Linked DNA regions of Homo sapiens: region 2 is linked to region 1. Evidence: promoter capture Hi-C in 16 types of primary human blood cells and fetal thymus (Javierre and others, 2016). All regions are on one chromosome and are shown on one strand. Each heading gives the region's core, a stretch centred on a gene start or on the middle of the fragment in contact. The rest is flanking DNA. Distances are from core to core; before and after follow the strand shown.

The links. Contacts are between HindIII fragments. The CHiCAGO score rates a contact against its expected background, and 5 or more counts as called.
Region 2: a fragment that was not itself captured here is called in contact with the fragment with the promoter of STT3B in region 1 in 1 of 17 cell types (monocytes); the score reaches 6.9 in monocytes.

Annotation. Positions count from the first base shown.
Region 1 is chr3:31,530,035-31,536,954 of GRCh38, forward strand. It overlaps STT3B (STT3 oligosaccharyltransferase complex catalytic subunit B), which reads left to right and starts at 2,891. Exons shown (of 16, transcript NM_178862.3): 1 at 2,891-3,278. The coding sequence starts at 2,965. RefSeq lists silencers at 2,214-2,473, 2,784-3,013, 3,044-3,173, 3,254-3,403 and enhancers at 2,574-2,713, 3,564-3,623, 5,063-5,564, 5,565-6,064. The HindIII fragment of the contact is 5,534 bases long and covers 646-6,179 here.
Region 2 is chr3:30,947,713-30,954,632 of GRCh38, forward strand. No RefSeq gene overlaps it. Among named protein-coding and RNA genes, the nearest start is that of GADL1, 57 kb to the left of the region's middle. The HindIII fragment of the contact is 4,842 bases long and covers 1,235-6,076 here.

The sequences.
Region 1 (6,920 bases), core at 1,641-4,140:
CTCTATCTCAAATACACTACATGCTGCTTAAAACCCTTTATGGCTTCTCAATATTCTGAAGTTAACATGAAGCAAAAAACACCTCTTAAAAGGACCTACACTACCCGGCCATTCCTTTGACTCCTACTGCACCTTGTCCCACTGTCTGCATTGCAGCCACTTTTCTGGGTTACTCGTATGCCTCCCCTGCCCCACTGCAGTGCCTTTGCACGTGCTTCTCTATGTAACGCGTTCCATTCTCCTTCTCCTCGTCCGTTCATCATCACTTCCAGTGCTGCTTCCTCAGGGTAATGTTTCTCATCCTTCTGGTGTAGATCAAATTCCCCATGTGCCTGTCCTCCACAGTGTTTGTCACCCTGCATTTTGGTCCTGAACCATCTGATGATTTGGTTAATACCTCCCTTCCTAGGGCTGGCTGGTGAACTCTCTGAGAGTAGGAGCCCTGTCTTTCCTGTTCCTAGCTGAATCCCCATGCATCCCAGTTCACTCACAGTGGTCGGCATAAAGGAGTTCAATATATACTTGCTGAATGAATGAGTGAATAAATGAAGGTCAAAAATCAAGGGGTTTTCGTAGGGCTTTTCACCTTTACCACTACCCTGTATTTGCACGTTCCTTAACAATTTCCTAAAATGCTTTCAGATAAGCTTTTTTAATATTAACAACTGACTTTAAGAGCAGAAAGGGCAACCCATGCAGGTGACTTGTCCAATGCTACATGACTAGTAAGCAACAATTTGGGACTATTTCACTTTGTCACTTTTCAGATCAGGCCTATGGCCATTAAACAGCCAAAACAGGAAGCAAAAGAAGATAACGTAGAACTTACTAGGGAATAGATACACAAAGACAATAAAATAGAAATATCCAAACAAATTAAAATAAAAACACAAATTTTATTTTAGACTGATAAAACTTTGGTTCAGGGAACACAGACAAAAATCCTCTGCTGTCATTTCAGCATGTACCGTTTGGGCTATGAGGAAAAGCATGTCATCTTTCTCTGTATAACAGAGGCAGTTAATATTTTATCCTAATTCTCATTAAAATGTGTACGTTCAATAAATGTCGGCTATTAAACTGTTGGTGAGAAAGTCTATTTCTGGAAACCTTTTCATTATTTCCTTAATAAGACTATTTATGGTTTTTTTAAGGAAACAAGACAAAACGTAACCACTTAGCAGGTTAAAAGGGTAGCTGGAGTTGCCTTACTTTCAAGGAGCTACCTCAAAATAACTAGGGTTCATTTATCTAATATTTTAAGACTTCTATTAATATTGAAACACAATTTGTAGTTAAAGAGAAAAATTTAAATCACCTAAGAAAATAATTCAGGGCCTTTATAGTTTTACATTAATATGCCCTTTAATATCCAGATGTTACTTACCTAATAAAATGTACAATTAGCTGTGAATTGACATGAACAAGTATTTACTGAGCACCGATTACGCCGAAAGCTCCGTACTTTCTATGGGGTTTATATAAGAGCAATTCGAGTCTCCCCACTACCTCACTTAGTTTAAGCTCATTTTGCCCTGAGTTTATCTGGTAGCACTTTATTTTAGCGGACAAGGAGGGAAGTGGGGAAAGGAAAGGAATTATAAAAATACAAGGTAGACGTGCACAAGAACCTTCGTTCTATTATTATTTAGTAAAGTGAGAACTGGAAACAGCTTAACGTCCAGGGTAAGTTAGTTTCACTCACTCGACGGAATGTATGCAGCCGTTAATGTATTTCTGCATTTTCCCATATTTCCAGTGAACATACAGTACTTTCGCAATTCGGAGTACAAACGAAAAAGGGCGAGAGAAGGTCGCATTTTGCCTGCCGGAGCTAGGGGCGCGCTTGCCGGTTCCAACGAGTTTTCGGTGTCGGAAAACTTGTCTTTGCTCACATTCTCGGATTCCCGCGGCCGCAGAAGCCGGAGGCGGGACGTGAAGGGCAATGAGCAAGGTAGGCTGTGTCACTGCCGCCGCGGGCTCACTCGCAGCGCCAGCCGAGGAGCGCCACGGGCTGCTGAACCCCTCGGCCCGACCCACGCGCCGAGGGCTAGGATAATGCGCCTGCGCGGCCGTCACGTGGTGAGGGCTCCGCGCAAAGCGGGTTAAAAGTCACGACCGCGGAGAGCCCGCGAGCGTCCTGCTGGTCGGTGCGGCGCTTTCCGCGTCCTTTAAGACGAGTTTGACCGAGGCCGCTCCGCAGTTCCCGCCCCTCGGCCCAGCTCAGCTCCATGAACCTAGCGGAGCCGCCTAGTACCCTTTCTCGCCGACCGCACAGGCGCGCGAAACCGCGTCTTTCAACTGACAATGAAGCCGTAGCCGCGCAGCTCGGCCACTCCGGGCGAATCGGCGCGAGGCCGGGATGGTGGGGGGGAGGGGGAGACGGTTGGGTCAAGCTCCGCCCCAGCTCGCGCCCCTATTGGTGGGCGCAGCGGTTCTGGGCCCGCCCCCTAACGGACCTGTCGCTTTGTGACAGGCGGAGGGGCCAGTTCCTGTCGGGCCGGAGGCGGAGTCAGAGGTTGCTTGAGCTCCGCCCGGACTCCAGGGGGCTCCTCCCCCTGCTCCTTTCGGCTGGGCGGGCGGCGGGCTAGAGAGGGAATGTCATTGCTTCTCAGAGCCGTGGTGCCGCCTCCGTCTGCTGCTTCTTTCCTGGCGCCCTCGTCCCGTCGGCTTTCGCCGCCGCCGCCGCAGCTGCACTGGGGATACGGATGGCTAGTGGGGCGCCGGGGCCATCTGGGTTGAGAGAGCGGCGATTGCGGCCGCTGCTGAGGCGGAGACTCCCCGCCGCCGCTTCCTCCACCCCCAGTCCGCCGGCCTCGCGGCGCTGAGGGCGGGAGCGCGCAGAGCTCTTCCCTCCTCCTTTTTCTTCCTCCTCCTCCTCCTCCTCCGGGTCCCCGCCCAGCACCCCTCGCACCAGGCGGCGGCGGCGGAGGAGGAGAGCTAGACCCGCCGCCGGGGCACAACATGGCGGAGCCCTCGGCCCCGGAGAGCAAGCACAAGTCGTCCCTCAACTCGTCCCCGTGGAGTGGCCTCATGGCCCTGGGAAACAGCCGGCACGGCCACCACGGGCCCGGGGCCCAGTGCGCGCACAAGGCGGCGGGCGGCGCGGCGCCGCCGAAGCCGGCCCCGGCGGGGCTGTCCGGGGGGCTGTCGCAGCCGGCTGGGTGGCAGTCGCTTCTCTCCTTCACCATCCTCTTCCTGGCCTGGCTTGCCGGCTTCAGCTCGCGCCTCTTCGCCGTCATCCGCTTCGAAAGCATCATCCACGAGTTCGACCCGTGGTAAGTGCCTCGCCGCCCCTCCCCCGCCCGTGGCCCGCGGGGAACCGGGACCCGCTCCTCCGCCCGCCGCAGCTCTCCTCGACTTGGCCCCGCGCCGCCGCGGAGCCCCGCTCGCGTCCTGGCTGAGGCCGGCGCGGATCCCGGAGCTCCGGGCGCGCCCCCTGCCCGTGGGCGAAGTTTGCCCCGTGCAGCCTGAGGCGGGGCGTCGGGGTCCAGGAGCGAAACCTTGATTCTCGGCCGGGCTAGTGTGAAGACTGCCAGGAGTGTGGATGCAGCCGCCGGGAGTGTGGGTGCAGCCGCCGGGAGTGTGGGTGCAGTCCCTCGCAGCCCGCTTTGGTCGCTGAGTCCGGACCCGCCACGCCAGGAGGCGGCAGGTAGCTCCTCCGCGGACTGTCGGTCGATTCCCCGCCCTCCTCGCCCGCTGCTTTCGCGTTCTTTCATATTTGCGGGCGCGTTTTTGCTAGTTCAGACGGAATCGGCCAGGGGGGCTGCCCTGTTGCCGCTGGAGGTGGGTCCAGATGTGCCGGAACCCCGGCTGCTCACCCTTGCAGTTTTACGCTTTTACTGTTTCTTTTTATGCTCTCATGATACGAGAAGGGAAAAGGAGAGTGAATGGCGTGTTGGAGGGAAGGAAATAATACCCCTGAAAGTGATCTGAAAGCTAGCTACTCTTATTTATTTATCATTAGGTATTTTAAAGAGTGGCTTTTTTTCAGAGCTCTTAAGTGCACTCAGCACCTTACTGTTTCACTATCGTCTTGGGTTGCTTTTTAGAACAAGATCCTTACCCTGTTAGCCACTGTCACCCTTAGTGTGTTATGCACAGTATCTGAAAGCATTGCATTAGTTCCTTTATTGGTCTGCAGGAAGGTTTGTGGATAAGAGCAAACAGTACCACGGTGATGGGAGTCCTAGATTGTAATACCGAAGTTGCACATGGTGTAAGGGACTGACCTGAATGTTTTAGGAAATTACCCCACTCTTAACAACACTAGCTAACTTAGACACTACATTGGTCTGTGAATTATCTAGATGGAAAGATTGCTTTAACTTTTTTTTCGCAACTTGCCCAACCCGAGTTAGGATTTTTCCCCCTGAGTTAGGATTTTCCCCTCTGAGAGTATGCCTTTTAAACTAGTGTTATCTTATTGACCTGTCAACCTTGAGTTAATCTTACTTCCTCACAGTTAGACCTAATTAAATTTCAGGATATTTGTTTCATCATTTGAGATTCAAAGAGAGAGAGTCTTTTTTGAGAGTTACTAACTATATAGATAATAAGTGTTCGGGTGGAGGGGGGCAGTAACTTACCTGTATAGTAATATACCAGATTTAAGTTCTGCATTATGGAGAGAAAAATTGGTACTGCAACATCTATTGAACACCAGAGGGGCCCACTCATGGACAATTCAATTTAGATCAGTTAATTACTGTGACAGTCTTCCATGAAATGTTTTCATTCCATTTTAGAAGTTTTGATTTTGTTTTCTAACACTAGTTTTTTTAAAAAATAACCTTTTTGTTAACGTGCAATCACAGAAGAAAATATGTTAGTGTAGACTATTTATGAGCCTAAGAATACCTGTGAAGGCTTATTGACACAATATTATTAGGTGGTCTTGTTTTGAAATACTTAAGCAAGTTAGATAAAAATGAAATTGGAACCAGAAAATGAAAACTAGTATTTACTGGACAATATGAAAAGAGAAAGTTCTCTTTTCAGATTAAAATAGCAGAAATGCATGGTTGACCAAACATTTCAGGTAACAAAATTGTGAATATTTCCATAGTAACATTTTTACAAATGGAAGGCTAACGACTGTTTAATAGTAACTCTGGGGCTGAAATTAAAGATTGCAGAAAAATTCACTACTGAATGATGAGATTTTGGTCATTTTTCCTTAAGATTAGAAATCTGCATCAAGTCAGCCAAAGATCCCCACTAAAATTGAGTAATGCAATAATGAAAAGGCTCAACAAGTAAAGTGGCTAATATTTTTATTTTTTATTTTTTATTTTTATTATTTTTTTTTTTTTAGTGTAGCTAAGTATTAAAAGTTTTCTTTTTCCAGCTTCAGTAGTGTGGTTGGAGGGCATAATTCTTTTTCATGCACATGAAAATATGTTTTGGTCGGGCGCGGTGGCTCACGCCTGTAATCCCAGCACTTCGGAAAGCCGAGGCAGGTGGATCACCTGAGGTCAGGAGTTCGAGACCAGCCTGGCCAACATGGTGAAACCCCCTCTCTACTAAAAATACAAAAATTAGCCGGGAGTGGTGTCGGGCGCCTGTAATCCAGCTACTTGGGAGGCTGAGGCAGGAGAATCTCTCGAACCCGGGAGGCGAAGGTTGCAGTGAGCCGAGATCGCGCCACTGCACTCCAGCCTGGGCAACAAAGAGCGAAACTCCGACTCAAAAAAGAAAATATGTTTTGCTTCATTTTTTATATATATGAAAACGCATTTCTGACACATTATCATTTAGCTAAATTTGTACCATTTGAAAGTATACATCTCTGTTTTAAAGAGCTACTTAATTTAGGTATTCTGCATATAGTTTTAATGTTGACATTTCTTAATTAAATGTTTATATTCATAATGTTAGATAATCTTGCTTAGTAGTAAGGAGATTTGTATAATAATGGACTGTCTCCTGTGCCTTACCGTGAATGGAGATTTGTCAGTATGAATCTAATATAATGTCTAATTCAGGTGACTTAATGAGAGAATCAGGTTTCAGACAAAAAAAATACCTTGTTCTTGTTTTTTTTTCATGTCTTTTGAAGATCTCACGTAGTTAGGCATCTCATTCATTCTTATCTGATTCTTACAGTCATTCTTTTTGAAAAGGTTAAAAGGAGGGGGATGTGTAGATTGCCTGCCATTATTACTTTGGGCTTTTAAAGCTTTTCGGGGCTTTTAAATCTAGTTTTCTTCTATAGCTACTAATAGTCGCAACACTTTAACTGGTCTGTAGCTGAACACTCTAGTGTTTCTAGTTTGGGAGTTGCTCAGATCACCATCATATCATATAGCAATGGCACAGACCTTTAATAATATTTAAATGTTACTCTCAGGCTGTGCATCCACAAACCGATTTATTCTGGCCTGCTCATACCTTCCCTGACCTCTTTTTCCATATCTCTATCAATGGTTTCATTTCTGCAAGTCGTTTTAGTGAAGGGTTTACTTTCTCTGTGAGCTATTTCTTTAAATTTTACAGTAGTTCTTAAATTGTGTAAAAGACTCAAGTTAGCTGCTGAAAGTGACGTCACAGAGTTATACTTGTTTTTTAAATTTGTCACCCAAGTTATTTATCTTACCAGTTGTCATAAGGGGTGATGTGTGATTTATTTATTGAAGTACACTGCACTTTTTTAACATTTAGCAACATTTTTGGTAACAATTTGACTTCACTTTAGTAATTCCTCCCTTATCAGCTGAGTTGAACAGATAGGAGGAAGCAGTTTGAAAATATATTGTCTGTACTTGCCAAACGTTTGGTTAATCAGCCACTTTAACAGCACTTAACTATACCTTTTTATCTGGAACAAAATGTGTTTTCTACATATTTTTATTGTAAGAGATAATACTTTTACTTTATATTAGCCAGATACCTTCTCCATATCCATTATCTTGTTCAAT
Region 2 (6,920 bases), core at 2,406-4,905, 580 kb before region 1:
TTCATGCCCAGAAAGGCCCACAAGATAGCAGAGTGGATCCTAAAGAGACACCTAAAGCTTTGGTCAATAAAAGGCATTTAATGCAAATTAAAACTACAGTGAGACATCATCTTACACCAGTCAGAATGGCTATTATTAAAAAGTCAAAAAATAACAGATGTTGGCAAGGATGTGGAGACAAGTGAATGCTTATACACTGTTGGTGGGAATATAAATTAGTACAACCCCTCTGGAAAAGAGTGTGGAGATTTCTACAATTGAACTAAATATAGAGCTTCCATTCAATCCAGCAATCCCATAATGGTATTTTCCCAAAATAAATAATTATATTAAAAAGAGACTTGTAATTGTAGGTTTATTGCAGCACTATCCACAACAGCAAAGATTTGAAATAAAACTAAGTGATCATCAATGGTTGGATGGATAAAGAAAATGTGTAAATGTACAATGGAATACTATTCGGCCATAAAAAATGAAATCACATCTTTTGCAGCAATGTGGATGTAGCTGGAGGGCATTATCTTAAGTGAAACAACTCAGCCAAATACCACATATCCTCACTAATAAGTAGAAGCTAAATAATCACACATGGACGTGGAGTGTGGAATAATAGACACTGGAGACTCAGAAGGGTGGGAGAGGTGGAAGTGGGGTGAGGGCTGAGAAATTACTTAATAGGTATAATGTAAATTATATGAGTGATGGTTACACTGAAAAGCCTAGACTTCACCACTTTGCAATATACCCAGGCAACAAAACTGCACTTATACCCTTAAATTTATACAAATAAAAAGATGTTTAAAAACCCTCAAAACCCAAATGCATTAACATGTGATGACATTTCCTTATAGAAGCAAAATGAAAGTCACTCTCATAATGAAATCTGACTGCTTATTTGAGTTGGTGGGGGGAGGTGGAAAAGTGGTGAGCAAGAAAAGCAGAAGCAGCTGATGGAGTAGTTTGCACAATTTCCCACTAAATTGAAACAACAAATAATAAAATGGTTATTGCACTCAATTGGGAGGCATCAAATAGATTATTGTAAGGTAAATATTATAATAGTGAGGCTCTCAGGCAGAATCAATTCCCCAACAACCGGGAGAGGTTTTGTCTTAGGTCACAAATGCATGTCCTCCACAAAACAAGGCCCTCATATGCTAAGTGAGGGAGAAAGCATTAGGTGGAGAAGCACTTTCAAAGAGAGGGCAATTGAATTTTGAACAGCAATGAAACAAGCTTCACAAGAGTTGGTTTCAAAATTAAATGGTTTGTATGATGATCACTTTGACTTCCAGTGCATCAAAACATAAAATATTATTTTACATGCATTTCCACAGCCCATTTCTCTGTAATACCTCACTGCTTTGACAAGCATGTTACGTTAGAAGGAAATAACACACAAAGGGATGTGGGCTGCCTGGGGACCAATCATATGGGAGTCTTTGTGACTTGCTTAAGATTATTCAAAGATCAATGCAAAGAAACGTGTCTTGCCTCTCTCCCCTAAATCTTGTCTGGAATCTCTTGGAGAGAATTTGCAGCTTTGAGTCCTCAGCTTGGGAAACTCTTCACCTTGGTTCTGCACATATTAAATTTCAGAATGTTCTACTCTCAAATTATTTATTCTCAGTGATGGTCACTTGTTGGCTGACAGGTCATTTATTTAGATGTAAGTAGAAGGCAGTAGGACACCATAAAAAGCATCTACTTCCAACTCCCTGTCCTCAGATAAGACTACTACACATGAAGTATTTATGGTACATTGTTTGCAAAAATGACCACAATCCTTTATCCTTCCCTATATGTGTACTCTTTGTACTGTGGCTTGCAGCTTCTCCCATCAAGAGACAAAGTTTTTCATCTGCCTTTGAATCTTAGGTCTTGCTTCAACCAATAGAATGTGGTGGAATTGACACTATGCTGGTTCTGAGCATGGGTCACAAGAAGACATGCACCCTTCCATTCATTTCCTTTGTCCCTGCTTTTGCCATATATATATGTATATATATACACATATGTATACATATAGATATATACACATATGTATACATATAGATATATATACACACACACACACACACACACATATATATATATATATGGACTCTGAATTTCAAACCCAAGAAGGAGTGGTATAGTATAAACTAAATAGGAAGAGTGGTAGGGAGGGGAAGAGAAAATTAAAAGACAAGTGTTAGACTTTCCAGTCCATAGATGACCAAGTTATGCTGCAACAGAACATGGGTCTCACTCACTAATAAACATCTATTAGAAATTTTTGATGCCTCAAAACTCAAGTTTCTTGTTTAGCATGTGTAGGGAGGGGCCTAGTATTTTAATACAGAGCTTCTCAAACATTAGTGTGTCTATTAATTATGTAAGGATCTTACTACAAGGCAGATTCTGATTAAGAAATTCTGCAAGAGGCTGTAGATTCTGCAGTTCTATCAAACTTCCAAGAGATGCTAATGCTGCTGGTCCCTAGACACATTTTGAGTAGCAAGGATCTAGAGTACTAGCTGGATTCTTCAAATAAGATCTAAAGTCCTGATACAAATTCCACTCAAGGACCTGAGAAAACCTGAAAGTAAAGCCCTAAAGTATGATCAGAAGTCATTTAGAAACATAGGTGCATGAGATATATAAATATACATGGAAAATAAATATATATACATAATATAGTTTCTGTTTCAAAGAGGACAAAATACTCCCAAAGATCAGAACAAATTGTAAAAAAAAAAAAAAAAAAAAAAAAAAAAACTTTTTTTGAGATAATCCAGAAAATTTTGACTGCTAGCTGGATATTTGATGATATTTAAAAAGATCATGTTTTAATTGTAAAATGTCATTGTGATTATGTTTCTAAAAACAACTCTGTTTTGAGGAATACCTACTGAACTCTACACAATTAAATATTCTAATACTATTCAAAACAATCCAGTGGTGGTTGGGAAGAAGTGGGTGATAAAACAGGGTAGCCAGAGAGATAAGTTCTGAAGCTGGGAGCTGGGAGTGGGGGGTTATTTTGCTAGTTTTTCTGCTTTTCTATGTATTTGAAATTTTCCAAATTTAAAGTTGTAAATAAATAGTTATGCAAAAAAGGGAAAGAAGGATGGAGGAAAGGAGAGAGGTGGAGAGAGAGGAAGAGAGGGAGAATAAGAGAAAGAGAAATATTCAGAGAGAATAGTCTCATCCAAGTTCCCTGCAAAAAAAAAATAAATAGGTTCAGCAAAATAACTGATTCCAACCTCAATGCTAGGTAATATTCTAAGACATATTATTGAGATAGTGGAAGTTAAGTTTTAAAAACAGAAAAAGATGAGATCACTGGGTCCTTCTCAGGACAGATTGCTAAGGACTCTGGCTTTTTTATTATGGCTTTTTGACAGGCATGTTAGATCCTGTAGATTTAAGGCCTCTGAATTCAGAGCATTTGTCAAAGTCTTCTGTGATCTTTATAAAGAAGGCAAAAATTGTGGCTCAGATGATAGCATGGCAAGGTGGATTCATGACCAGTTGAATGTCCACCCCCAGGAGGAATAGATTAGGAGCCAGCATGAGGCTGGAGGCAGCTCTTTAGTGGAACACTGAAGGAGTCCTGTTCAACATGTTGTAGTTTTTTAAATCAATGACAGGTGAAGATAAACAAGATGTTTTGGCCAAATTGACAGGGGGGCATAAGGTCTAAAGGACTACCTTATAATATATTTGACAACGGAATTATAATCTAAAGACATATCAACATGCTACAGCTAAGAACCAGTGTTAGCAGGCTGAAATTAATAGCATTTTTGATCAGTCAGCCAGGAAAATTCAAAATGAGAAAAAGACTTCTCAGTGGACCACGTGCACCTAGGGGTACTTATTAGCTACAGACGGCCAGGACTCCTCCCCCTGAATTTTGCCATCATCCTGTACTGGTTTGGGAAGCACTGACTTCAAGATCTCTCATTGTAAATTACATAAGAATCAGGAATGTAAGCGGCTGCTAAAGCCAATTTGATCTGCTAATTTTATTGTAGGGTACGTTAAAACAATTACTTCTCCAGAAGAGAAGAGGGAATAAAAGCAATAATTGCATCTACAGTTTAGTAAGCATTTACTATGGTGAGGCATTGCACCAAGTATTTTGCATACATTATCTCATTTAATAGCCACATAATTCTTTCCATGTGGGTGTTAAAAACTTCATTTCCTACATGGGGAAACTTGAGTTCAGAGTGGTTCAATGACGGCTGAAGCCACACAGCTGCTGAGCATCAAAATGGAGATGCGAGTGGAGCTTCTGTGGTACAGCAGCAGCTTAGGAATGCAATGCTTGCTCTCACATTGTCTGGGCTGGCCCCCCAAAAATTCCAAGCACAGGGTTGAGCTCTGGTTACTGTGCTTTAAGAGAGCATCAGAAAATCTTAGCCTGTGTCCAGAAGACTGTCTCACTGATCAAGGCAGTGAGAGAACAAGCACATCATATGTGGTCCAATTAGAAGAAAGATAGAAGAGTCAACTTAGAATGTCACGGTAGGTGCTTAGTAAATGTTTGCTAAAAGACTAACTTTAGCTTGAAAAAGGAATTTTACGGAGTCTGCTGTTTTGGTTATCTATCATTACATAAAAAACTGTTCGAAAAACATGGCTTAAAACAGTAACCATCATTTATTTTTATCTCTCATGGTTCTAGGAGCTAACTGGGCTGAGCTGGGCAATTCTCACTCGGTCTCTCAAGTTTTTGCAGTCAGTTGGTGGTGAGGGCTGGTATGGGGGGAAAGAAATATCTTCTCATCCATCGCCAGGTTCATGGTGAGACCTCTGTAACAAAAGACATATTAACAAGAGAAAAGAGTACAGTAAGTCTAACATGACATGGGAGCCTTCATGAAGAAATGAAGACCCAAATAAACAGATAAACTTGTATCTTTTTATGCTACATTTGATAAAGAAGTAAATAGTTGTGGAGAAGTATGGTTGGACAAAGGGTAGATCATCTAGTGGTAATAAACTGGGGGGAATTTAGCAAGGCCTGTTTGTTCAGATTCTTCTCTGTGTCCCTGTGTCTTCAGCGATAAGGGTGTTTCTTTCCTTCATGTAATAGGATGGCACATCGGGAATAAGTGTCTTATGACTTGCTTCAGGGAAGAAGGACAAGGAGAAAGTGGGAATGACCTTCCTGCTTCTGCTATTTTCTTAAATGCCAAAATGCCATATTTGGGGAATAGCATGTCCAAAACCACATCACTGGAATAATCTCAAAAGCTGTTGAACTCAACTACTTGGAAGTTACATAATCACTCAGGGTTTGAAAGTATGTGTCACAAGCGATCGAGTCCAGCAGTAGCTGTATTGTCTTCTCCAATCTGTCCTAGCAAACCACACAGTGTGCCTTCTGTATTCTGTTTGTCAAGTCAGTCACCAAAGCCTGCCCAGTTTCAAGGGGGTGGTGAGGGGGATGTAGACTCCACCTCTTGACAGGGGAGGGAAAAGGTTTGGAGAAAAGGTTTTTGAGAAAGTTTATGGAACCAGAAATGTGATTGAAGCCATTTCTGGAAAATACAATTTGCCACATCTGCCTAGGAATATTTGGGGCAGAGGTGGGGGACTAGAAGTGTTGTATGTGGACAGAGAAGGTAGAACTAAGCCAGGTCATGAAAAGAAGTAAAATAGAGACAAATTTGGATTCAAGAAAGGAAGATGTTTTCAAGACGCTGGATTATTTTTAAGGGGGAATGAATTTTCTGCCATTGAAACATGGGCTGTCAACACGTTTCTAGGGTCTGATACAGTGAGGTATCTGATCCCTCCAGCTCAGTGTGTCCAGGACTAATCTGTTAGGGGTCAGTGGCTGGAGCAGGAAGTCTTCATGAGAACCAGAAAGGCTAGAGGACCGAGCAAAGCTGAAAGTTAAAATGTTTTTAATTTTTAAAACTTTTTAAAAATGGTGAAGCCCAGGCTGCAGGAGTGGGGTTAGAAGGTTTACTGAATGTGGCAGGAGCTGGAAGTGAACTTTTAAGTTGGGGATGTGAACAAGAGTTTGAAACCAGAGAGGATCAAATAAATAGAATTAAAGTAGATCTAGAACTAAAGCTTTGGAGGAGCAGAGCAGGGAAGGATGGCACAGGGGACCTGAGCAGTCAAAGCACAGCCTCTGGTTGCTAGAGCACACTCCCTGGGACTGCTGGGGCACTGGACGTGTTGGAGAGAGAAGGGGGCACTGCCCGAAGGTTAGCTTGGCCTAGTGCAGGACAGACACAGGAAGACAAGCTCCACATGGAGGACTTGGATTAGGATGGACAGTGAGGCGCCTTCTGAAGCTAGGAATATTAGATTCTCATAGGACTAGGGGACATGTAGTAAATGATTGTCAATCTCTAGGCATTCTCTGGGTGTTATATTAGTCTTGACAGTAGACGTTTTCTACCCTTTGATAACTAATCAGTAACAGCCTTGGCATGCCACCCTCAGGTGTAAATGAAGCCCTTACAGGGAATCACAGTTCCATGGCCTTACACATCAGCTATTGCATGATTTTGAGAAGGCTTATTTCATAGTTAAAATCCAGGTCTGATGAACAACCCAGCACCACGAAGCCAGATTGTGTCTTCTGCCCTGGTAAAGGCCATTATTCCCATTAGGATTGCTACATAGTTGAGAAATCACAATTGTATTATATTCATTCATGTGCCTATGTAGGTTTCAGGGAAAGTTGCATACATTTTGACAAGGAAACACAGGTTCAAGAAGATAAAAATGGTGGTGAGAAAACACAGATCTGTATCAATAAAGAAAAACTTATCCTGGGCCACGAAAAGGACAAAGAACACTAGCTGGCTTTAGTGGCAGGACAATGAGCCAAATGAGCAATTGGCCTCAAATGGGAGTGAATGAATGGGTGGAACAGATGGCACTATAGTGATCTTCCAGCAACC